Linked DNA regions of Homo sapiens: regions 1, 2, 4, 5, 6 and 7 are each linked to region 3. Evidence: promoter capture Hi-C in 16 types of primary human blood cells and fetal thymus (Javierre and others, 2016). All regions are on one chromosome and are shown on one strand. The core of a region is centred on a gene start or on the middle of the fragment in contact, and the rest is flanking DNA. Distances in the headings are between cores, read along the strand shown. Region 1 overlaps TCERG1 (transcription elongation regulator 1). Region 2 overlaps TCERG1 (transcription elongation regulator 1). Region 3 holds the start of YIPF5 (Yip1 domain family member 5). Region 4 overlaps TAF7 (TATA-box binding protein associated factor 7). Region 5 has its middle 6.1 kb from the start of RBM27. Region 6 overlaps RNF14 (ring finger protein 14). Region 7 overlaps RBM27-POU4F3 (RBM27-POU4F3 readthrough).

The links. The method cuts DNA at HindIII sites, captures the fragments that hold promoters and counts their contacts. A CHiCAGO score of 5 or more calls a contact.
Region 1: a fragment that was not itself captured here is called in contact with the fragment with the promoter of YIPF5 in region 3 in 1 of 17 cell types (naive B cells); the score reaches 6.3 in naive B cells.
Region 2: a contact is called between a fragment that was not itself captured here and the fragment with the promoter of YIPF5 in region 3, in 1 of 17 cell types (total B cells). The highest score is 7.7, in total B cells.
Region 4: a contact is called between a fragment that was not itself captured here and the fragment with the promoter of YIPF5 in region 3, in 1 of 17 cell types (total CD8 T cells). The highest score is 6.8, in total CD8 T cells.
Region 5: a fragment that was not itself captured here is called in contact with the fragment with the promoter of YIPF5 in region 3 in 1 of 17 cell types (neutrophils); the score reaches 6.5 in neutrophils.
Region 6: a contact is called between a fragment that was not itself captured here and the fragment with the promoter of YIPF5 in region 3, in 1 of 17 cell types (fetal thymus). The highest score is 9.5, in fetal thymus.
Region 7: a fragment that was not itself captured here is called in contact with the fragment with the promoter of YIPF5 in region 3 in 1 of 17 cell types (total B cells); the score reaches 5.7 in total B cells.

Annotation. Positions count from the first base shown.
Region 1 is chr5:146,490,563-146,493,880 of GRCh38, reverse strand. It overlaps TCERG1 (transcription elongation regulator 1), which reads right to left. Exons shown (of 23, transcript NM_001382548.1): 16 at 843-961. Among named protein-coding and RNA genes, the nearest start is that of GPR151, 24 kb to the left of the region's middle. The HindIII fragment of the contact is 876 bases long and covers 1,122-1,997 here.
Region 2 is chr5:146,451,311-146,454,888 of GRCh38, reverse strand. All of the region lies in intron 1 of TCERG1 (transcription elongation regulator 1), which reads right to left. Among named protein-coding and RNA genes, the nearest start is that of TCERG1, 5.8 kb to the right of the region's middle. The HindIII fragment of the contact is 8,635 bases long and covers 1-3,578 here.
Region 3 is chr5:144,169,127-144,172,427 of GRCh38, reverse strand. YIPF5 (Yip1 domain family member 5) reads left to right here and starts at 1,769. Exons shown (of 6, transcript NM_030799.9): 1 at 1,769-1,893; 2 at 2,463-2,582. The coding sequence starts at 2,473. KCTD16 (potassium channel tetramerization domain containing 16) reads right to left here and starts at 1,555. Exons shown (of 4, transcript NM_020768.4): 1 at 1,419-1,555. RefSeq lists an enhancer at 1,628-1,907. The HindIII fragment of the contact is 8,610 bases long and covers 1-3,301 here.
Region 4 is chr5:141,317,195-141,320,627 of GRCh38, reverse strand. It overlaps TAF7 (TATA-box binding protein associated factor 7), which reads left to right. Exons shown (of 1, transcript NM_005642.3): 1 at 1-2,138. The coding sequence starts at 584. The coding sequence ends at 1,633. Among named protein-coding and RNA genes, the nearest start is that of TAF7, 1.9 kb to the left of the region's middle. RefSeq lists an enhancer at 116-315. The HindIII fragment of the contact is 1,932 bases long and covers 813-2,744 here.
Region 5 is chr5:146,195,943-146,199,057 of GRCh38, reverse strand. No RefSeq gene overlaps it. Among named protein-coding and RNA genes, the nearest start is that of RBM27, 6.1 kb to the left of the region's middle. The HindIII fragment of the contact is 3,677 bases long and covers 1-3,115 here.
Region 6 is chr5:141,970,317-141,973,522 of GRCh38, reverse strand. RNF14 (ring finger protein 14) reads right to left here. Exons shown (of 9, transcript NM_004290.5): 2 at 2,646-2,819. Among named protein-coding and RNA genes, the nearest start is that of RNF14, 2.8 kb to the right of the region's middle. The HindIII fragment of the contact is 3,286 bases long and covers 313-3,206 here.
Region 7 is chr5:146,215,365-146,218,937 of GRCh38, reverse strand. The region is part of intron 1 of RBM27-POU4F3 (RBM27-POU4F3 readthrough); the gene reads right to left. All of the region lies in intron 1 of RBM27 (RNA binding motif protein 27), which reads right to left. Among named protein-coding and RNA genes, the nearest start is that of RBM27-POU4F3, 14 kb to the right of the region's middle. The HindIII fragment of the contact is 4,825 bases long and covers 1-3,573 here.

The DNA of each region.
Region 1 (3,318 bases), core at 310-2,809, 2.3 Mb before region 3:
CTACCCGACAGTTTTAGAATACTGAGGTATTCCCAGTAACCTAATACCACTACTCTTACATCTAAGTCATAAATAAGAATAATTCCCCCTACCTATACAATTCTGTGCAACACTGAAATCTAATTGAAATCCCAGCTTCACTGGGGCAAGCTACCTAATTTGCTTATCTCATATAAAACAGGTATCACGTAAGTACCTAAATCAAACTACCTGTTCTGAAGACTGAATATCTGTATGCATATATATAAAATTATATGCTTTCAGTCATGTTTACATGTAAATGTATAAATGCATACATATATGTTTTAAAGTGCAAATAAGCACATAAAATACCCAGTAACTGTTATTACTATAAAACTAGGCAAATAAATTTAAAATGTCTCATTTTCTTCAGCCCATTACATGTATTTAATACATATTACCAATCAATTCAAAATGTCAGACATGACCATTAACTAGACACTTAGAAAATTTTGAAATTGAAGTGGTAAAAGGTCCTTCACCACTTCAATTTAATCAAAATAATGTTCCTCCTCTGCAACTCATTATGTATAAAACTTTACAAAGATGAGGCACAGATTTTCTATCATATACTAGTTTCTAAAGAACTTATTCCCATAGGGAAGCACTTAAATCAAAGGTACCCTTCTTAGAGCACTTAGGATTCCTCTAAAGGAAACATAGTAAAAAATAAAGATTAGAAATTTTGGCAAAAACCGATAATCAAATAAGGAGCTTTTAGTGCCCAAATAGTCAAAAAATATCTATTTTTTTAATTTTTAAAAACTGATCTTAGGAGAAAATAAATACACTTTGATATTTAAGAGAAACAAACCACATACCTTGGATTAAATTTTGCTTCTTCCATCATTTTTTTGAAATCTTCCTTGGCTTGCATTATTTTATTTTTCTTTTCCCTGCGTTCTTCCTCTGCCCTGGTCTTTACATACTGATCAAACACCTATTATAAAAATCAACAAATTTGACAAGTCAATCTTTCATATAGGTAATTTAACTACCAAATTATTGGACAATGTCTTTGTCCAAACTATACCAGGAAAAATATATTAACTGTAGATAATTATACACAGATAATCTATACCAAGTTTCACTTTAAAGCTTCACTGAGATATTACACAAGCACACAGCTCTCTACTTAGGCTTCAAGAACAAAAGAAAACAGCAAAAAGCCTCTTTAATTTTTTTCCCGATTATAAATACATGATTATTATAAACATGTCAAGAAATTTAGAAATGCGGAAGAGAAATCACAGTCTTCCCAAATCCCTTTTAGAAAGAAATATCAATGGTATGGAATCTGTAGTATATTTTATTTCCGTGCTTCTCTTAAGACATAAGTATTTTCACTAAAATGTAATCATGCTTTACATCTATTCTATATTTCCCCCACTTAATAATACAGTCAAGATAATGAACTGATCATCTATTTACCACCTACTTCACACCCTACAAAATGACAGAAGAACTTCTTTTTTAAGTCATAACCCAACAATGATTGAGAAAAAAAGAACCAGCAACTTGCAAAGCTGATGGGACAAGTGGAAAAGGATGTGACAGATATGAGAGCACTCAACATAACCTAGCAGTCAAGAAAAACAAAGAGGCAACTCAAGTTTTTTTTTCTGAAACCAGAATCTCCTCAAACAACTCAAGAATAGACAGCATCAGATACCTATGGAGGTGAGGATGGGGCATAGCTAAAATAAGTAGTATTTTAAGGATGAAAAGCTATTTAATAAGTTGTTAAATTGCCAGATGCCCCCACCAACTTAATGTTTCTGGGCACTGCCACTTCTGAATGTAAAAGGCAAGTGACTATTCCAAAGCAAATAATTGGCAAACTATGGCCTACGGGTTGTTTTTATACAGCTCAAGGATAGTTTCTACATTTTTTAAAGGTTGAGGGGAAAAACAAAGTTTCATGACACATGAAAACTAAATAAAATTCAAATGACAGTATTTCCATAAATAAAGCTTTAACTGAACAGCCATGCTTATACCCTTACGTATGTCTACAGGTACTTGACACTTAAAACAGCAGTTGCAAAGTTACAATAGAGACCATATGGCCCACAAAGCCTAAAATACAAATTATCTGACTCTTAAAAATTTGCTGACTGCCTGCTCTAGAAAGTAAAAGAGAGTGTCTTTGAACTAAGGGAATCTGAATTGGGAATAAGGCAAACCAAACTAAAAACATGGAGATTAACCAAACACATACCAAATACTAAGACACAGTTAGTTCTCTCAGATCCGAAGCAGAGAGATCTGTGCCCTCCAGCCAGATTAGAAGTCTTTATTGGGAATCTGACCAGCCTAAAACATTGGCTCCAGGGGTTCTCAACAAACCAGCCTAACTCACCCTACAGCATGTTTCTCAACCTTGGCACAGTGATGTTTTGAGCAAGATGTATACCAGCATCCCTGGCCTCTACCCACTAGATCCCAGCAGCACTCACTTCAATGGTGACAAAAATGTCTCCTGGGGGCAAAACTACTCGTGGTTGAGAACCACCACTCTGCAGTACAGCCCCAAAGCACGAGGGCCCACCTAAATGCTAAGAATACCCAAATAGGCCGGGCAGTGGCTCACACCTGTAATCCCAGCACTCTGGGAGGGCAAGGCAGGAGGATCATTTGAGCTCAGGAGTTCAAGACCAGCCTGGGCAACGTGGCAAAATCCCATCTCTACATGCAAAAAAAAAAAAGAGTACCCAAACAGCATTTTAGTGCTTCACTTAAGTAGTCAGGGTCTACAAGACATCTAAGGAAACTCTCCAACATGAAAAATAGAGCCCTAAAGAGAACAAACTTAGTGGAATCAGAAACTATACAGAAAAATAAAAATATAAAAGAAAAAAATGTTCCTAAACAACCTCACAGAGCTAAGATAATGCACCCATAAGGCAAGAAAAACCTCAAAAAACATAAAAGAACTCTTAGGAATTAAAAGACACAATAAATTTTAAAAATCTAAATAGTTGGTTAATAAAGGCAAGGAAATTATCCAAAAAGTTAAATAAAAAGACAAAGGTAATTAACAGGAAAGAGAAAAAGTTGAAGAACCAATCCATGAAGGCAAATTCAAATTCTGTCCCAGAATGAAAAAACAGAGAAAACTGGAAACAAATTTTTTAAAGTAACACAAGAGAATTTCCCGTAACTAAAAGAGCTGAGTTTCCACACTGAAAAGGTCAGCCAAGTACTGAGCACAATAGACCCTTCCTCTAGGAAAAATACCACTATGGCATTTCAGAATACTAGGGACTAAGAGAGCTACATACTTATAGAGAAAGA
Region 2 (3,578 bases), core at 404-2,903, 2.3 Mb before region 3:
CAGTGGCTCACATCTGTAATCCCAGCACTTTGGGAGGTCAAGGCAGGTGGATCACCTGAGGTCAGGAGTTTGAGACCAACCTCGACAACATGGTGAAACCCCATCTCTACTAAAAATACAAAAATCAGCCAGGTATGGAGGCGCACGCCTGTAAGTCCTGCTATTGGGGAGGCTGAGGCAGGAGAATCACTTGAACCCGCAAGGCAGAGGTTGCAATGAGCCAAGATCAAGCCACTGCACTCCTGCCTGGGCAACAGAGCAAGGCTCCATCTCAAAAAACAAACAAACAAACAAACAACCAAAAAAACAAAAAAAAAAACTTACATCAATGGATGATCTAGTTTTGGATGAATGATCAATGGATGCCGAGTCTAGGCAAAAATTTAGACAAGAGGGTTATCTGATGGTCTTAAAGTATTTACCCACATGCTGCTTAAAGTTGCAAGAAAGGATGAAAAAAAAAACACTCTACATAATCTACGTAATAAGGAAATTAGGCAATACCTTGACCCCGTGATCAAAACTAATTATCATCTAAGAAGGACAGATAGATAATGTGTGACTGAGAGAGACACGACATCACCTATTCCGACCAAAAATGTATAACCTCAATCTAACAACGAGGAAAGTATCAGACAAACTCAGAATAAGGAAGGAATGTTCTTTCTTTTCTTTTCTTTTTTTTTTTTGAGACCAAGTCTCACTCTCTTGCCAGGCTGGAGTACAGTGGCATGATCTCGGCTCACTGCAACCTCCGCCTCCCGGGTTCAGGCGATTCTTCTCCCAAGTAGCTGGGACTACAGGCATGCGCCACCATGCCCGGCTAATTTTTTTTTTTTTTTTTTTTTTTTGTATTTGAGTAGAGATGGGGTTTCACCATGTTGGCAATGGTCTTGATCTCCTGACCGCATGATCTGCCCTCCTCGGCCTCCCAAAGTGCTAGGATTATAGGCATGAGCCACAGCGCCTGGCCGGAAGGAATGTTCTATTAAAAGGGGGATGTGTATTCTTCAGATATGTCAATGTTATCCATAAAAGACAAAGAAATGTTGTGGAAATGCTCCAGATTAAAAAAGGTTAAAGAGTCATAACAACACAATTTTTTTTTTTTTTTTTAGAGACAGGGTTTTGCCATGTTGGCAAGGCTGGTCTTGAACTCCTGACCTCAGGCGATCTGCACACCTCAGCCTCCCAAAGTACTGGGATTACATGCGTGAGCCACCACGCTCGGCCAATAACAACACAATTTTAACTCTAGATTGGATTCTGTACTAACAGGAGGAAATGCCATACAGGGCATTGCCAGATCAACTGACAACACTGGAATATGCACAACAGATTAAAGTATTATATCATTACAAATTTATGAAGTTGATAATTAGGCTGTAGTTAAGTAAAATAATATCTCTATTCTTAGAAAATACTGAAGTATTGAAGGGTAAAAAGCCATAGGTATACCTTACCCTCACAGTTCAGAATAACAAAGAGGATGCACGTGTGCACGCAAATAGTAAAGCAGAAGAGGTAAAATATTAACATTGAATAACACCCTAGCTTTATTTTTGCGACATTTTGTAAATTTGAAATTACTTCCAAAGTTTTTAAAGGGGGCAGGGGGGTCACTTGGCAGATCATTAGTAGTCTCTACCTAAAGGGAAAGCCTTTCCCTGTAGGGCACACTGCCCCACCACCCCTCACTCTCAACACCCTAATGTATTTTCTCCACAGCATTTAAGCAAATAAGTAATATCACATGAGATAGTATTATCTATCTCTTCCCCCAAGTGCTTTTGTAAAGAGAATTATTAACTCCTAAAAGTGCTTACTATGAGCCAGGCAGTGCTTGCTCTAAGCTCTTTTCAAAAATTAAGTCTTTTAATCATCAAAACAACCCAATGAGATGGATACTATTAATCTCAGTTTATAGATAAAGAACTAAAGCAAAGAAGTCACTTGTCCAAGGCCACACAACTGGTTCAGTACTAAAGCCAGGATTCAGGTGGCCCACGGTGGCTCGCGCCTGTAATCCCAGCACTTTGGTGGCCAAGGCAGGCAGATCATTTGAAGTCAGGAGTTCAACATCAACCTGGACAACATGGTGAAACCCCATCTCTACTAAAAATACAAAAAAATTAGCCGGGCATGGTGGTGCACGCCTGTAATCTCAGCTACTTGGGAGGCGGAAGCAGAAGAATTGCTTGAGCCTGGGAAGTGGAGGTTGCAGTGAGCCGAGATTGTGCCACTGCACTCCAGCCTGGGCAATAGAGCAAAACTCTGTCTCAATAATAAATAAATAAAGAAAATAAAGAGAGGATTCAAACACAGGCAAATGCTCCTTCAGAGTAGGAATTGTGTTCACTCTTGTATCCCTAGCACATAGATCTGTACATAGTAGGGCTCAATAAATATTAGTATTAGTATTTGTTGCATGAACCACTGAATACCTAGGTGATACAGTACCCAAACTACCTTACAAGTAGCGTATGCAGGATCTTAAAAAAATTATTTTTACAATTCCACCCATTTACTGAGTACCTATCATGGTATTCCCAGTAGCTACTATACATCTACATTATACATAAAAAACCTACATTTCTGTCCTCAAGAGAGGAATTAACAATTATATTCTTTATATATTTGAAAATAATCATTCTTATAGTCTCTCGTTACCAGGCTCTTTCAACTTTCTGACATTTTTCAACCCTCTGCTTATAGATTACCCTTTGAACTTTCTCTAAATTTACCACATCATCGTTCAATTCTGACACACACCAAAAAAATCCTAATAAAGAACCAATTTAGGCCAGGAGCAGTGGCTCATGCCTGTAATCTCAGCACTTTGGGAGGCAGAGGTGGGCAGATCACTTGAAGCCAGGAGTTCGAGACCAGCCTGGCCAACATAGCAAAACCCTGAGTCTATTAAAAATACAAAAATCAGCCAAGCATGGTGGTGCATGCCTGTAGCCCCAGCTACTTGAGAGGTTGAGGCATGACAATCACTCAAACCCAGGAGGCAGAGGTTGCAGTGAGCCGATATTGCACCACCGCATTCCAGCCTGGGCAAGAGAGCGAGACTCAAGTCTCAAAAAAATTAAAAAATTAAAAAAAAAAAAAACTAATTTGCCTTCTGGACTTGTTTACAGTCCTGGTATAACCAGGACTGTAAACAAGTCCAGAACTACTACACCAAGTATATTTAATCAAATTTGCAAATGATCCTACAATCCAAAGGTTAGAAAATATGAGTTAAAAAGGAATATGGGCCGGACGCCCCCCGGTGGCTCACGCCTGTAATCCTAGCACTTTGGGAAGCCAAGGCAGGTGGATCACCTGAGGTCAGAAATTCGAGACCATCCTGGCCAACATAGTGAAACCCCCACTCTACTAAAAATACAGAAATTAGCCGGGTGTGGTGGTGCTTCCCTGTAATCCCAGCTACTCAAGAGGCTGAGGCAGGAGAACAGGAGGAACCTGACAGGTGGAGGCTGCAGTAAGCCAAGATCACACCACTGCACTTCAGCCTGGGAGACAGAGCAAGACATTGTCTTAAAAGAAAAAAAAAAAAAAAAGGAATATGG
Region 3 (3,301 bases), core at 520-3,019:
TTTATAATTTTCTCTACACAAAGCAATGACAAATGTCTGAGGCGACAGATATATCTCAATTACCCAGATTTCATTATTACACATTGTATGCTTGTATCAAAATGTCACATTTATCTCATAAATATGTACAACTATGATGTATCCACAAAAATAAAACAAATAAATTCGCTAATGGGTAAAAACCTCAAAGGGCAGCTGCCTGTTGGTCTCTAGAGTACAATCCTAGGTTTTTTGGTTGGGTCTTACATCCTTTTGTTGTTGCTATTTTTGTTTGGAGGGGAGTGCGTTTTCTGTTTGTTTTATTGGGGTGGGGGGTGTTGAGAGAAAAGTTTTAAGTGAAATTTTATTGTTCCTTTGGAAACTAGTCCCCAACAATGGTCTGGCTTCTTTTGTGAGGGCCTCAGGATTTTGATCCCAGAATATAATGCAGTGGCTCATGATAAATTTTATTGCTATAAACCCTGAAGAAAGTTCTGCTCATTAGTTAATAGCATCTTATTTCGAGTCACAATATTCGGGATTCCACCATCTTGGGAAAGTGATTTAACACAGGAGCCAAAGCAATCATTTTCAAAAGAAAACAATTTAAACATCACTCATCAGTTCACAATCTTCACTTCTTTTAGAACCAACACACAAATCCCACAGGATATTTCCTGGCCCCTTCCTGTTATTCCAGCCTCAACTCCTATGTGGCTCCCCTCACTTGCTGTTCCAGTCACTCAGGTTCCACTTAGAAGAGTGGTTGACAAATTCAGCTAATGTTGCCCCCACCGCCCCCAAGGACATTTGGATTTGGCAATGTCTGGAGAGATTTTTAGCTGTCACAACTTGGTGGTGATGGTGGTGGTGGTTGGTTGGGGGGAGTACTGGCATCTAATGGCTAGAGATTAGGGATGCTACTGCTAAGCATCATGCACAGGGCAGCCCCCAATAAAGAAACATCCTGACTCAAAATGTTAATAATGCTGAAGTTCAGAGCTCGATTTTCATCTTTCCTCAGACCATGCTTCCCAGATCTTGCACACATTGTTCTCTTTGCCTAAAATATTCAGGCTATTTTCCCTTATCCTCCTTTCCCGTTGCCCTTTCTTCTCTTTTCTGGTCTTCTCTAACTCCCACTCACCCTTTGATAACCCTCTTATAGTGGCTTTACAGACTCTTCTTCCCAGATGAATGTTACTCTTTCAAAGAATTATGGAACACTAAAGAATATTAGTAGCAATTTCACATGCATTTGTATGTGTTCGATTACCCCTCTCCACCACCAACTCCAGGTGGGTAGATGTCACCTAGCTTATATTTACCACAGTATCCCCAGCAGCTAGCACAGAATGAATGAATACTTAATAGCTTCACTTACAAAAGGGAAATAGGGTAACCATCTCATTAGGTTGTAAAGATTAAATAATACATACAAACACTTTAGCACAGTGCTTGAATCACAGTAAATGCTGACACCGAGGCATTGTAGGCATTGTAGTTTGTGGACAGGAGAGGGGACTCCGTCTGTCTCATTTTAGCGCCTCCCAGTCTTCCTCCATCACCTAGGTCTGAGAAACTCCTCCTCCTACCTACGAGTAAGCAGCAATTGCTACGCCTGCGCTTTCCTGGTTCCACCCCTAACCAGGCTGCCGGAAGCACTTTCCTCTTTGGCACGGGCCAGCCGCAGGTTGGGTAGATACTGCGCAAGCTCCATACTCGTGTCTCCTCCTCCCGCCCACCGGTGCCCAACCTGCTAACACGCCTGCGCGAGCGGGCGTGCCCCGGAAGCCGTTCTTTGGCCCTGTGACACGTAGCAACGGGGCTGGTTCAGGGTCTGAAACAGAGTTTGGGGGTTGTTTGGGATTAGTGAAGCTACTGCCTTTGCCGCCAGCGCAGCCTCAGAGTTTGGTGAGTGACCCAGGCCCGTGGCACAGTGTTCAGCTTCTCTCCACACCCGTGCAAATGGGCTTGTTGCCGTCTTTCGGCGCCGCGCCCTGGTCCTTTCGCTCAGACCCTCGCTCTCATTCAAGCCCTTGCCCTGACGCGGTCCCCTGCACCTCAGGCGCGACCTTCCAGATTCTGCACTTTTTCCTGGCAGGCCGCAGGCCTTATTTTGCAAGGAAGCAGTCGCCTTGTCAGCTGTAAAGCCCAGTCCTAAGGTGAAAAATCATCTTTGTTGTTATTGATATTTTAGACCGCTTATGGAACCACAACTCCCACGACCTCGCCCCTAATGGAAGGCATATCAGCTCTTTAAGGTGGAGTTGTCTTACTGGGCCGCAACTTAAAAGAATATACATTTTCTTACTCTCTCTCCGCTACCGTCGTTCAAATGCTGCGTACTTTCCGCCCCCATCCCCTCTCCGAATTACTGAAAAAATATTTGTTGTGTTTCTATTTGCTTAAGCAGACTGCCAGGAACGAATTCAGTAGAACCTTGGGCATAAGGAATATTTGCCATTTCTCTTTTATTACAGATTATTTGCAATGTCAGGCTTTGAAAACTTAAACACGGATTTCTACCAGACAAGTTACAGCATCGATGATCAGTCACAGCAGTCCTATGATTATGGAGGAAGTGGAGGACCCTATAGCAAGTAACTTTTCATCTTTGGCAATTAATTTAGTCTACATTGCAGTGAAAACACATATTTAGAATATTTGGTTCTGCCTAAAACAATATGTGAACATGTCCTTTATCAGGAGTATGATCTTTCATGCATAATCTTCTTCCTCTAGAGAGATATGTGACACTGGCTTGGCTTCGAAGGTATTGTTCTATTTAAGAGTTGAGTGTCTTCTGCAAACTCTTCAGGTGTACCATGAATGGAAAAGTAGCTTGTTTGAAGAACTGTTTTCTAGTAACAGTATTTCTGTATTTAGAAGATGATGGGAGCTTCAGGTACCTAGGAGATAGGCTGTTAGTTCATAGGACCAGTGAAAAATTAAAGTATTTTGTTAGTAGTTAAATCAGTCCAACTCTGAGACTTTTATCAGTGCTAATTGAAAGTGCTTAGTGACATTATTTAATGATGTAAGCTCCTTATTACGAATCATCAGGCGATTTTCATACAGCAGTTGATAATCATTTTTATTACTCCTCCTTCTCAAACCCTTATGGTCAGTGCCACACGTGTTATAAGTTGCATACTGAGGAGGTTGACTCAAAGCCGTTAGCCTCTGAACATTTTTTTTTAAATGATCTTTTTATAGTACCTGGTGTTTGTGACAAAAATACATGAACTGAAGGCTTTCTAGCAATCTCACCTAAAACATCATCTCCTTAGTTTCTTAGGACCCTAGAGATAATCTTATC
Region 4 (3,433 bases), core at 529-3,028, 2.9 Mb after region 3:
ATTAAGGAAACGACAAGGAGACGCTCGGCTCTCTCCCGCTTGGCTCCTTGCGGCCTCCTCTTCCCTTCGCTCCGGCCCGGTGAAACTGAACTTATAATCGTCACTGGATTGTAAGTACCCGAGGCGAAGAGAGCTCGCTGAGCCCTGATTTTTTGAGTGTCTTTGTTCCGGGAGAGTTTGTGAGTTGAAAGTATCTCTGCTGGGCTTTCTGGGCCGAAAACCGTTCCGGGGGAGCCGCCATTTGCTTTCCTGTTCCCTAGCTAGCTAGCTAGCTCTCTCCGCGTTGTCCGGCAGCGGCACCTAGAGGTTGGGACTTGGCATTGCATCTGATTTAATGAACTTAAGTCTGTGAATAAGCCTTTGTGTTAACGACTGGTATTCGGTCACAGCATATTTAGAGAAAAGACTTGGAGCTTAAATAAAAACTAAGGCAAAATAGACGCTTAGCTGCTGATCTACAGAGAACTTCTTGTAATTAAAAGATTTCAATTCATAGCAAACTGGTGTTTTAAACTATTGCAGTAGCTGGAACTTTTTAGTGTAACCAGCATTTATTGGAGAAGTGAATCACAAGGAAATAAAGATGAGTAAAAGCAAAGATGATGCTCCTCACGAACTGGAGAGCCAGTTTATCTTACGTCTGCCTCCAGAATATGCCTCTACTGTGAGAAGGGCAGTACAGTCTGGTCATGTCAACCTCAAGGACAGACTGACAATTGAGTTACATCCTGATGGGCGTCATGGAATCGTCAGAGTGGACCGTGTTCCATTGGCCTCAAAATTAGTAGACCTGCCCTGTGTTATGGAAAGCTTGAAAACCATTGATAAAAAAACTTTTTACAAGACAGCTGATATCTGTCAGATGCTTGTATCCACAGTTGATGGTGATCTCTATCCTCCTGTGGAGGAGCCAGTTGCTAGCACTGATCCTAAAGCAAGCAAGAAAAAGGATAAGGACAAAGAGAAAAAGTTTATCTGGAACCACGGAATTACTCTGCCTCTAAAGAATGTCAGGAAGAGAAGGTTCCGGAAGACAGCAAAGAAGAAATATATTGAATCTCCAGATGTTGAAAAAGAAGTGAAACGATTGCTGAGTACAGATGCTGAAGCTGTTAGTACTCGGTGGGAAATAATTGCCGAAGATGAAACAAAGGAGGCAGAAAATCAAGGCCTGGATATCTCTTCTCCAGGAATGTCTGGTCACAGGCAGGGCCATGACTCATTAGAACATGATGAGCTTCGGGAGATATTCAATGACCTCAGCAGCAGCAGTGAGGATGAAGATGAGACCCAGCATCAAGATGAAGAAGATATAAACATCATTGACACGGAGGAAGATCTGGAGAGACAGCTACAGGACAAGCTAAATGAATCAGATGAACAGCACCAGGAAAATGAAGGAACCAATCAGCTGGTTATGGGAATTCAGAAGCAGATTGACAACATGAAAGGCAAGCTCCAAGAGACCCAGGACAGGGCAAAACGACAAGAGGATCTCATCATGAAAGTGGAAAATCTGGCTCTCAAGAACAGATTTCAGGCTGTACTGGATGAGCTCAAACAAAAGGAAGACCGAGAAAAGGAGCAACTCAGCTCTTTGCAAGAGGAGCTAGAATCACTCCTAGAGAAGTAAAAAGAACTGATATTTAATTTCAGTCTTCAGACTGGTCAGCATTAGAAAATTCTTGGCTTTATTGTACTGGGTATTAAGACCTTGCTCTTCCTAGTCCTTTTAATGCTGTGTGTTCTGTTAAGTTCTTTCATTTGTTTGTAATTTTGTTTTTCAGCAAATTTATATTGTTTTGCTAGGTGTTCATCCTATAAGAAGCAGGATTGTATAGGCAGAAAAATGATTGTAGGAAAGTTGCAGGATTAGCGGAATGTATGGTTCAACCTTAATTATAGCTTCATTGCAGGACTTTACTGTTTCTCCATTTTCTAGAAGCTGCTGTTGCTGCTTTGTGATGACGTGAGATCAATAAGAAGAACCTAGTCTAGAGACAATGATGCTAGTTTGCATATGTTTTCCTATGCAATAATTGTTTTCCCAGTTATTCAAAGCAGCTTTCTATATGTAGAGATGCAAATTATTAAGTTGTTTCCAATACAATAAATAAAAGCATCTGTTTTTCACTTTATAGTGTATCTTGTTCTTTCATGGTTGGTGGGAGTCAGGTCCTCTTGTGAGGTGGTTTTATGGTGGAGTTTAGTGACTAAGCAATTTGATCCCGTTCTGCAGGTAGAGGCAGTAGGGTTTATGAAAAAAAGGAACACAGCAGGGGTAAAGAAATTGGGAATGGTCATGTTTGCATCATATTAAGATTCCAATTCTATTTGATCTACTTGAAAGCTGGGAAACATTAGATACAGAGCTTTCTTAAAGTACCCTAATTTTTGTAGATGAAGGCCTTTGTGCCTTTTTTAAAAAGCGCTAAATCTACCTGCATAAAATGTTGGAAACAAAGCAGTGGTTATCAAGTGCAGTCCAATGAACCATTCCATTGGTTTGGATTAATATTTCTAATTTTCTTCAGTTGAGTTCCTATAATTAATATTCTGAGAACTGAGGTCATTTATCAATGTCATTTCATCAAAATTGCTCATAAAGGAAGTTGGTACCAAATTTCTCATGCTCTAAAGATAATCTAATGCCTCACAACATAAGCTATTTTTGAAAAATCAGTTACTGATAAAAGAGGCAGAGTTGTATGCAATTTGTTTGACAGGTTGGTTTATGAGAAGCTTGGGTTTGAAAATATTTAAAGTTTTTTTTTTTGAGACGGAGTCTCGCTGTGTCACCCAGGCTGGAGTGCAGTGGCACCATCTCGGCTCACTGCAAGCCCCGCCTCCTGGGTTCACACCATTCTCCTGCCTCAGCCTCCTGAGTAGCTGGGACTACTCAGGTGCCCGCCACCATGCCCAGCTAATTTTTTTGTGTATTTTTAGTAGAGACGGGGTTTCACTGTGTTAGCCAGGATGATCTTGATCTCCTGACCTCATGATCTGCCCGCCTTGGCCTCCCAGAGTGTTGGGATTACAGGCATGAGCCAGCGCGCCCGGCCTCTTTTTTTTTTTTTTTAAGACAAAGTTTTGCTATTGTTGCCCAGGCTGGAGTGCAGTGGTGTGATCTCGGCTCACTGCAGCCTCTGCCTCCTGGGTTCAAGCGATTTTCCTGCCTCAGCCTCCCGAGTAGCCGGGATTACAGGCATGTGCCACCACACCTGGCTAATTTTGTAGTTTTAGTAGAGACAGGGTTTCACCATGTTGGTCAGGCTGGTCTTGAACTCATGACCTCAGGTGATCTGCCCACCCTGGACTCCCAAAGTGGTGGGATTACAGGCCTGAGCTACCACACCCGGCCTAAAGTCCATTTTACTTCTATCTGACAAGAAACAGTATTGAAATGTTAAAAAAAAAAAAAAAGTTACCTAGT
Region 5 (3,115 bases), core at 576-3,075, 2.0 Mb before region 3:
ATGTTTGTTCTTTCTTCAATTTTAGCAGAATTCATGTTGCTCTAATAGAGGCCCTTTTCAAACTGATGTCTTATCCCTCTTAGGGCCTCAAACTAGATCCTGTTTAGAAATGTTGTAACAAGTTCGTATGAGTTTATTTTGTTAAAAACATTTGAAATCCATGCATAGTTTTTTCATAATACACATTTTCCATAAACTTTTTGAAGACTGTGTGTGTGTGTCTTCTAAAGGCCTATATGCAGACACACACACACACACACACACACACACACACACACAAATGAACACAAAACATGTATCGATGTCAATATTCTGGTCTTGAAATTATACTACAGTTTTGCCAAAAGTTACCATTGACTGGGTGTGATGGCAGGTGCCTGTGATCTCAGCTACTCAGGAAGCTGAGGTAGGAGGATTGCTTGAGTCCAGAAGTTTGAGACCAGCCTGGGCAACAAAGCAAGACTTTGTGTCAAAAAAATAAATGCTGCCATTGGAGGAAACTGGGAAGAGTGTGTGAGGGTTCTTTCTGCATTATATCTTACAACTGCATATGACTCTAGAAGTATCTCAATTTTTTAAAAAGTTGCTTCAAGGCTGGGCACGGTGGCTCATGTCTGTAATCCCAGCACTTTGCAAGGCTGAGGCAGGCAGATCACATGAGATCAGGAGTTTGAGACCAGCCTGGCCAACATGGTGAAACCCTGTCTCTACTAAAAATACAAAAATTAGCCGGGCATGGTGGCACTAGCTGGGAGGCTGAAGCAGGAGAATTGCTTGAACCTGGGAGGCAGAGGTTGCAGTGAGCCAAGATCACACCACTGCACTCCAGCCTGGACAACAGAGCAAGACTCTTTCGGGGCAAAAAAATAAAAAAAGAATGTTGCTTCAAGGCAAGCATGGTGGCTCATCCATAATCCAAGCAATTTGGGTGGCTGAGTAGGAACATCACCCAGGAGTTCAAGACCAGCCTAGGCAACATGGTGAGACCCTGTCTCTACAAAAAATGAGGCAGGAGAATTCCTTGAGCCCAGGAGGTCAAGGCTGCAGTGAGCCATGTTTGTGCCACTTGGGTGACAGAGAAAGAACCTGCCTCAAATAAATAAATAAATACAAAGTTGCTTCACACGACTACAGTGGCTCAAGCCTGTAATCCCAGCACTTTGGGAGGCTAAGGCAAGAGGATCTCTTGAGCCTAGGAGTTCAAGACCAACCTGGGCAAGATAGCGAGACCCCGTCTCTACAAAAAATTTAAAAATTTTCCAGGTGTAGTGGCGAATGCCTGTAGTCCCAGCTACTCAGGAGGCTGAGGTGAAAGCATCACTTAAGGCGGGAGGTAGTGGATGCTGTGAGCTGACATCGTGCCACTGCACTTCAGCCTGAGTGACAGAGCCAGACCCCGTCTCTTAAAAAAGACAAAAATATTGCTTCACATGTTAAGAGCAGTGTCACCAGGGAGAAAAGGTTGAGAATGGCATCTTTAGGTGTGTGGTTACTGGAAATAGTCCTTGCCCCAATTCCCCAAGATCTTTATGTGTTCCCACTGGACCTGTGTGGGGACCCAGATCTGACGTCCTTGCAGATTATATAAGCATCCAGGAGAAATGTGGAAAGCTCCATGTCAGCAGTGACTGTTGGGTTTTCTTGGGCAGGGGGGAGCAGGGAATACAAAACAGCAGTAGTGGACTGACAAGACTCCCATTCCATCTGGTTATCCTTCTGATGTTAGAAGAGTCCACTCTGATGTTTAAAACCGTCCACTCTTCTTTGGATTAAATAAGCCCCTTGTGATTTAGACATATCAAATAAAAATAACTCATACTCATGTGTGCCAGGCACTCTGCCATGCAACTTTACATGAATTAGCCTCTTTCAGTTCCTGCATTCAGCCTTCCTTACCTTCAAGCAATATTGATTGAAATCTATCATAAGTAGAACACTATTATAGGCCCTGGGGATACAGCAATGAAGAAAATAGGCATTCTGTTGGAGATCTATTTCAGTAGCAAGATAATAATGACAAATAACAATATAATATGTCAGGTGGGATACATTCTAAAAAGGAAAATAAGGCAAAATGAGGAGATAGAGAGTGACGGGGAAGGTAAAAAGACTGAGCAGTGGCTTGAAGGTAGTGTGGGTGTTAGCCGTGTAGATATCTGGGATAGAGGCTTTCCAGGGAAGTGCAAAGACCCTGAGGCAGGAGCTGACTTGGCACATTTGAGGAAAGGAAGGAGGCAATGGGGCTGGAGCAGAATGAACCAGGAAGAAACTGATGGTACATGAGTGAAAGAGGTAGTTAGATGCCAGATCATGAAGGACCATGTAACGGTAAGGACTTTAGATTTTACTTCTATGCCAGGTGCGGCGGCTCACATCTGTAATCCCAGTATTTTAGGAGGCCAAGGCAGAAGAATCACTGGAGTCCAGGAGTTTGAGACCAGCCTGGGCAACATAGCAAGACCCCATCTCTACAAAAAATGAAAAAACTAACCAGGCATGGTGGTGCGTGCCTGTGGTCCCAGCTACTCAGGAGGCTGAAATAGAAGGATCACTCCAGACTGGGAAGTCAAGGCTGCTGTGAGTTGTGATTGCACCATGCCTAGCCTGGGTGATAGAGCAAGATCTTGTCTCAACAACAACAAAAAATTACTTCTGAGATTAGAAGAAGGGTTTTGTTTTTTGTTTTTTGTTTTTTGTTTTTTGAGATAGTCTCACGCTGTCGCCCAGGCTGGAGTGCAATGGCGCAATCTCGGCTCACTGCAGCCTCCGCTTCCTGGGTTCAAACAATTCTCCTGCCTCAGCCTCCCAAGTAGCTGGGAGTACAGGCGCCCACCACAATTCCCAGCTAATTTTTGTATTTTTAGTAGAGACAGGGTTTCACCATGTTGGCCAGGCTGGTCTCAAACTCCTGACATCATGATCTGCCTGCCTCGGCCTCCCAAAGTGCTGGGATTACAGGTGTGAGCCACCATGCCTGGCCAGATACTGAAGGTTTTAAATAGAGTAATGAAATAATCTCATCCGCTGTTTTTTTTTTTTATGGGATCACTGTGGCTCCTTTATGGGTATCAGACTGAAGGGGGCAAAAGAGGAGGTACGAAAACTAGTTAGGAGG
Region 6 (3,206 bases), core at 706-3,205, 2.2 Mb after region 3:
CTCACACCTGTAATCCCAACACTTTGGGAGGCCGAGGCGGGCGGATCACCTGAGGTCAGGAGTTCAAGACTAGCCTGGCCAACATGGTGAAACCCCATCTCTGCTAAAAATACAAAAATTAGCCAGGCGTGGTGGCAGGTGCCTGTAATCCCAGCTACTTGGGAGGCTGAGACAGGAGAATCGCTTGAACCGGGAGGTGGAGACTGCAGTGAGCCAACATCACGCCACTGCACTCCAGCCTGGGCGACAAGAGTGAAACTCCGTTTCAAAAAAAAAAAAAAGAAAAGAAAATGCACAGAGGTGGAAAAAGCTTAATGGCACAAAAAACAACTGCAAAGAATTAATCGATATTATCACTTTTCTCCTAAACCAAAAATGACAGCCATATCTGGCATTCCATTAGTTTTGCAATATTAACAGTCTTTTTCAAAAGGGATGGTTGTGGTACTTCTAATTCCTGATCTTATCAGTTAGATATTTTATGACTGAATTAGAGGAAAAAAAGCACAATTTGAAAATTTTCTTTGAAAAGGACAAATCACAAATTTACTTTGACTTGTCCACTGAACCTAGCAATGTGCCTGGTTCGCAAAAGTGGTCAAAGTATATTACACTCCTTTCTTAAGTTAATTTGCCAGGCGCGGTGGCTCGTGCCTGTAATCCCAACACTTTGGTAGGCCGAGGCGGGCAAATCACCTGCAGTCAGGAGTTCGAGACCAGCCTGGCCAACGTGGTGAAACCCCATCTCTACTAAAAATACAAAAATTAGCTGGGTGTGGTGGCTCACCCCTGTAATCCCAGCTACTCGGGAGGTTGAGGCAGGAGAACTGCTTGAACGTGGGAGGCAGAGGTTGCAGTGAGCTGAGATTGCACCATTGCACTCCAGCCTGGGCGACAGAGTCAGACTCTGTCTCAAAAAAACAAAAAAGTAAATTTTTTAAATCCACAGGAATCTTTAGGGCAAGTTTTCTTAGCTTCAGCTCTATTGACATTTTGAAGTAAATAATTGTTGTTGGAGAGCTGTGTTGTGCATTATAGAATCTTAACAGCATCCCCTGGCTTTTACCCACTAGATACCCAATAGTGGCCCGCTTCCACCCACAAGAGCTGTGACAACTGAAAATATCTAGCCAGGTGTGGTGGTGCTTGCCTGTGGTCCCAGCTACTTGGGGAGCTGACATGGGAGGATCACTTGAGCCTGGGAGGTCGAGGCTGCAGTGAGCCATGATAGCACCACTGCACTCCAGCCTGAGTGACAAAGTGGGACCCTGTCTCAAAAAAAAAAATATCTCCAAATAGCGCCAGGTCCTGGGGCAGGATGGGGGTTGGAGGCAAAATTGCTCCCAGGTGAGAAAACAGTGCTTGAGAATGTTACAGGCATAGATATTATGGAAGAAAATTAGATAACTGAGCAAGCAGCAAAATAATATTAAATTTTTGAAATAATAGATTTTGTCAAATCCAAGCAGTCACCAATTTAAAGATTCACCATTATGACTCAAGAATATTTAAAAGATAATAATTTTAAGAAAGATTTACCATTATTTTAGGTAATACTAAGAATTTAGCTACAAGGCCCAGGCACAGTGGCTCAAGTCTTTAATCCCAGCACTTTGGGAGACCAAGGCAGGCAGATCACTTGAGGCCAAGAGTTCAAGACTAGCCTGGCCAACACAGCAAAACCCCATCTCTACTAAAAATAAAAAAATTAGCCGGGCATTGTGGTACACGCATGTAATCCCAGCTACTCGGTGGCTGAGGCACGAGACTAGAGAATCACTAGAATCCAGGAGGCAGAGGTTGCAGTGAGCTGAGATTGCACCACTGCATTCCAGCCTGGGTGACAGAGACAGACTCTGTCTCCAAAAAAAAAAAAAAAAAAAAAAGGAAAGAAAGAAAGAAGAAAGAAAGGAAAGAAAGAAAGAAAGAAAGAAAGAAAGAAAGAAAGAAAGAAAGAAAAAGAAATTAGCTACAATTAAAGTATGAACTGGCTGGATATGGTGGCTCATGCCCGTAATCCCAGCACTTTGGGAGGCCAAGGCAGGAGGATCACTTGAGGCCAGCAGTTTGAGATCAGCCTTGGCAACATAGCAAGATCCTGTCTCTATAAAAAATTAGCCAGGTGTGGTGGTGTGTGCCTGTAGTCCCAGCTACTCAGGAGACTGTGGCAGGAGGATCGCTTGAGCCTTGGATGCTGAGGCTGCAGTGAGCCGTGTTTGCACCACTGCACTCCAGCCTGGGGGACAGAGCAAGACCTTGTCTCAAAAAATAAAGTATGAATCAATGTTTTTTAAAATAGCATCAACTGAAAGATACAGCAATTTCAGATAATTTAAATGTGAAAAAAATATGCAATGAGAATTTACAAAAATCATTTTAATAAAACAAAACTACCAGTCAATTAAAATATTGAACTACAATTGCATTTGCAAATATCCTCCCTCACAACTAAAATATTTTTAATTAAAATGTACATAAGTAAAAAGTTAGGATTTTTTACATTTTAAAAGGTCATACTATGAAATTAAAAATGATTTCATTTTCAAAAAACACTTTTTTTCTAGGAGATGTTAGTTCATGGCTCTGCTTAAGCTGCATCCCTATCTAAGACACAATTACATGTTCTACTTGAGGTCAGTTAGTACCTGTTAATAACAATCAGAAGAAAAGGATATTAACACCGCAGTCTGTATTTCAGCTCAGAGTGGAGTTCATGCAAATCCCATTTATTCTCTAACTGGTGGAGCTGAGACTGCTGAAGCTGGGTAAGAGGCCAAGATGTGGAACTCATACTACATATATTATGAAAATCCTGCCATCTGCAGAAAAGAAATACAAAAGATGGTGTTAGGACCCTCTCCAAATTAAAATTCTGAATTTCCATGATCACTGCTTAAGTCAAACATATCCTAACATATAGCCAATCCTAATCTACAAGTGCATGTTACTCTCCTAGGGCAGGCTAACTGAGCCATGTGGTTAAAGGAGTATTTGCATGTCCCCAGCAATGACTGAGGACTTTTTATCTGTCTGCCCTCAGCTATGGGAGGAGCTAAGGAGGAACACCAAGGTCATATGAAAGTACAGGACACCATGCCCCATAACAAACAATCTCTTCAGTTTGTTTTTTGTTTTGTTTTTTTCTCCTTTCCTCTTCTGCTTCTTGTATTCCTTCATTTGCCACTCCCCTCCAGTTTTTCCTCTCT
Region 7 (3,573 bases), core at 919-3,418, 2.0 Mb before region 3:
AAACAGTAGTGTTATTAATGAAGTCACCCTTATTTTGGAAAACGAGAAATCAAAACTCTATTCTAAAAAGTGACCACAAACACAGGCAACTTTTATAATAAACATATACATACTGCGAGATTTTCCTTTTGCATTTATTTCTACAAAATGACTAGTATGTCTTCTATTTTTGAGGTTCTAAATATATCAAGGATCTTGGGCGAGCTCTACATTTATTTGTTCTCTCAATGATAACAGGCAAAGAGTGGCAACTGACCCCTAAGTTGCTGTTTGGCTCCCAGCTATAGAAGCACTGTCAATAACACCTTCAGGAACTATCTGTTCCAGGTGATTAATGAGCAAAAGGAAGGGAAGTGATGGAAAAACTTTCTCCTCTCCTCAAGACACCTCTCCCTAGGCACCAGTATCTAAAAATGGCTATCAGCCCTTTTGCTAATCTCAGCGAGTATCTTAAAGATCTTTTTAAAAAATAAGAACATGAAAAGAATGGCATTTAAATATTATTGGCAAATGCTTTAGCAGCTGTAAGAAAGAAAGAAAAGATCTAGGAGTTAGAAACAGAAAGGAAAAGAGAAGTGGTGAAAGGACAGCAGAGATAACCTTTATCTACTTCTCATTTTTTCTAGTAAGTAATCCAACACTGATACTCAAAATCATCTCCTATTCCAGGACAGCTCATAATCCTTGGGTTGTCAACTCCTGATGTATAGTAATCTGTCAGACTCGAGGTTTTATGTACATCACATGAAACTTTTAGTTTTCTTGTTGTAAACATATATATATACACACACATATATAAAATATTCTAGGCTTCCTGATGAATACATAAATAACACATATCCTTCACAGTCAGGTTATGAAGGTAAAATGAAAACATTCAGGCTGGGTGCAATGGCTCATGCCTGTAATCCCAACATCCTGAGAGGCTGAGGCAGGAGGATCATTTGAGCCCAGGAGTTCAAGACCAGCCTGGGCAAAATGGCAAAACTCTGTTGCTATAGAAAATACAAAAATTAGCCAGGTGTGGTGGTGCACGTCTGTAATCCCAGCTACTCGGGAGGCTGAGGCGGGAGGATGCTTGAGGCTGGGAGGCAGAAATTGCAGTCAGCCGATCACACCACTGCACTCCAGCCTGGGTGACAGAGTGAGACCCTGTCTCAAAGAAACAAAAAACAAACAAACAAACAAACAAAAAATTCAGAATAACAGTAAGTAAAACCATTATGCAAGCAAAGTGATTATATAACCTATAAAACACTATTCAAATCTAACTAATCTTGTTCTATAATCCTTGGGCCTTCACTAGCAGCCAGAAAGTTAAAAGGTTTCAGCTCACTTGGGAGGCTGAGGCAAAAGGACACCTTGAGCCCAGGAGTTGGAGGTTGCAGCAAGCCATGATCATGCCACTGCAGTCCAGCCTAGGCAACAGAGTGAGACCTTGTCTCCAAAAAAAAAAAAAAAAAAAAAAAAAAACAGGCTTCAGCTCAAGAGTATCAATCACATTTCCAATAACTTTATGAGATTAGTAAACAAAATAAAAACCAAGCACCAGTACCTTTACTTCCTTCTAGTTTTTATGCTTAAAGTTCGTAATTCAGTAACACAACTTTTTTTGTTGTCAATATTAACACTGTCATGGGAAAGGCTGGTTCTTTAAACATCCATTCACCTGGCCGGGCACGGTGGCTCACATCTGTAATCCTAGCACTTTGGGAGGCCAAGGCGGGGGGATCACCTGAGGTCAGGAGTTCAAGACCAGCCTGGACAACATGACGAAACCCCGTCTCTACTAAAAATACAAAAATTAGCCAGGCAAGGTGGCTGGCACCTGTAGTCCCATCTACTCCAGAGGCTGAGGCAGGAGAATCGCTTGAACCCGGGAGGCAGAGGTTGCAGTGAGCTGAGATCGCACCACTGCACTCCAGCCTGGGCAACAGAGCGAGACTCCATCTCCAAATAAATAAATAGACAGAGAGTCACTCAAGGCTGGGCCTGGTGGCTCATGCCTATAATCCCAACACTTTGGGAGGCCAAGGCTGGCTGCTTAAGCCTAGAAGTTCAAGAGCAGCTTGGGCAATATAGCGAGATCCGGTCTCTACAAATAATATAAAAATTAGCCAGGCATGGTGGCGCACACCTGTACTCCCAGCTACTAAGGAAGCTGAGACAGGAGCATTGCCTGAGCCTAGGAGGTCAAGGCTGCAGTGAGCCATGACCACACCACTACCCTCCAGCCTGGGATACACAGTGAGACCCTGTCTCAAAAAATAAAAAATAAAAGAAAGTAAAGATTTTTCTTAAGTAAAAAATGTTACATTTTGGAGAATTATGAACAGATAACCTTAGTAAGGCCAACTGTTAAATTCTAAAATTGATAAATATATTGTAAACTTGAATTTGCTAAGAGAGTAGATCTTAAGTGTTCTCACCACACAAAAAAAGACAGCTATATGAGATGATTATGTTAACTAGCTTTTGATATATATGCACATTTCAGCATGTGCATATATATCAAAACATCACACCTTAAATACATACAATTTTTATTAATAAAATTTTAAATTAAAAACCAAAATAGTGAATATGTAGCCTTTCTATCTTCAAAAAATATTATGGTTGGGTGTGGTGGCTCACACCTGTGGGAGGCCAAAGTGTGGGGAATCGCTTGAGTCCAGAAGTTTTAGACCATGGTGAAAACCTGCTTCTACAAAAAATTAACCAGGTGTGGTGGCATGCACCTGTGGTCCCAGCTACCCAGGAGGCTGAGGTGGGAGAATCACATGAGCCCAAGAGGTGGAGTTTGCAGTGAGCCGAGATTGTGCCACTGCACTCCAGCATGGGCAACAGAGCAAGACTGTCTCAATAAAATAAAATAAAAATTACACATGCCAGCTGGGCGCGGTGGCTCACGCCTGCAATCCCAGCACTTGGGAGGTCGAGGCAGGAGGATCACGAGGTCAGGAGTTCAAGACCAGCCTGACCCAAATGGTGAAATCCCGTCTCTACTAAAAATACAAAAATTAGCCAGGCGTGGTGGTGTGCACCTGTAATCCCAGCTACTTGGGAGACTGAGGCAGGAGAATCACTTGAACCCGGGAGGCAGAGGTTGCAGTGAGCCAAGATCACACCACTGCACTCCAGCCTGGGTGACAGAGAGAGACAGTCTCAAAAAAAAAAAAATTACACATGCCATGCTTACCCTGGCTATTCTATAAACACCTTAAAAAACAGATGTGTAGGCCAACTTAATTTCACCCCTGAGAATAATGAGAAAATTTTTATCAGTGTAGTTCTAGTCTACATTCATATGGAGGAGAGAAGGGGAAAAAAATTACATTTCCACCTTTACTTAAAAAGTTTAGTTCTTGGATAAGGGTAGTCTAACACAGAAGAAAAGGACTTAGAAAAATAAATAAGAATGGAAGAAAATGGCAATGTTATTTTCTCTGACGTTATAGGAACCTTCAAGGAGTCTAATGATCTGATAGATTTAGTGCTGGGTATGGATAATAAAGTTTCTATATGTTAGGAATGGGCAAAACATTCAGATATTGGATAACTGAAATGGGTTTA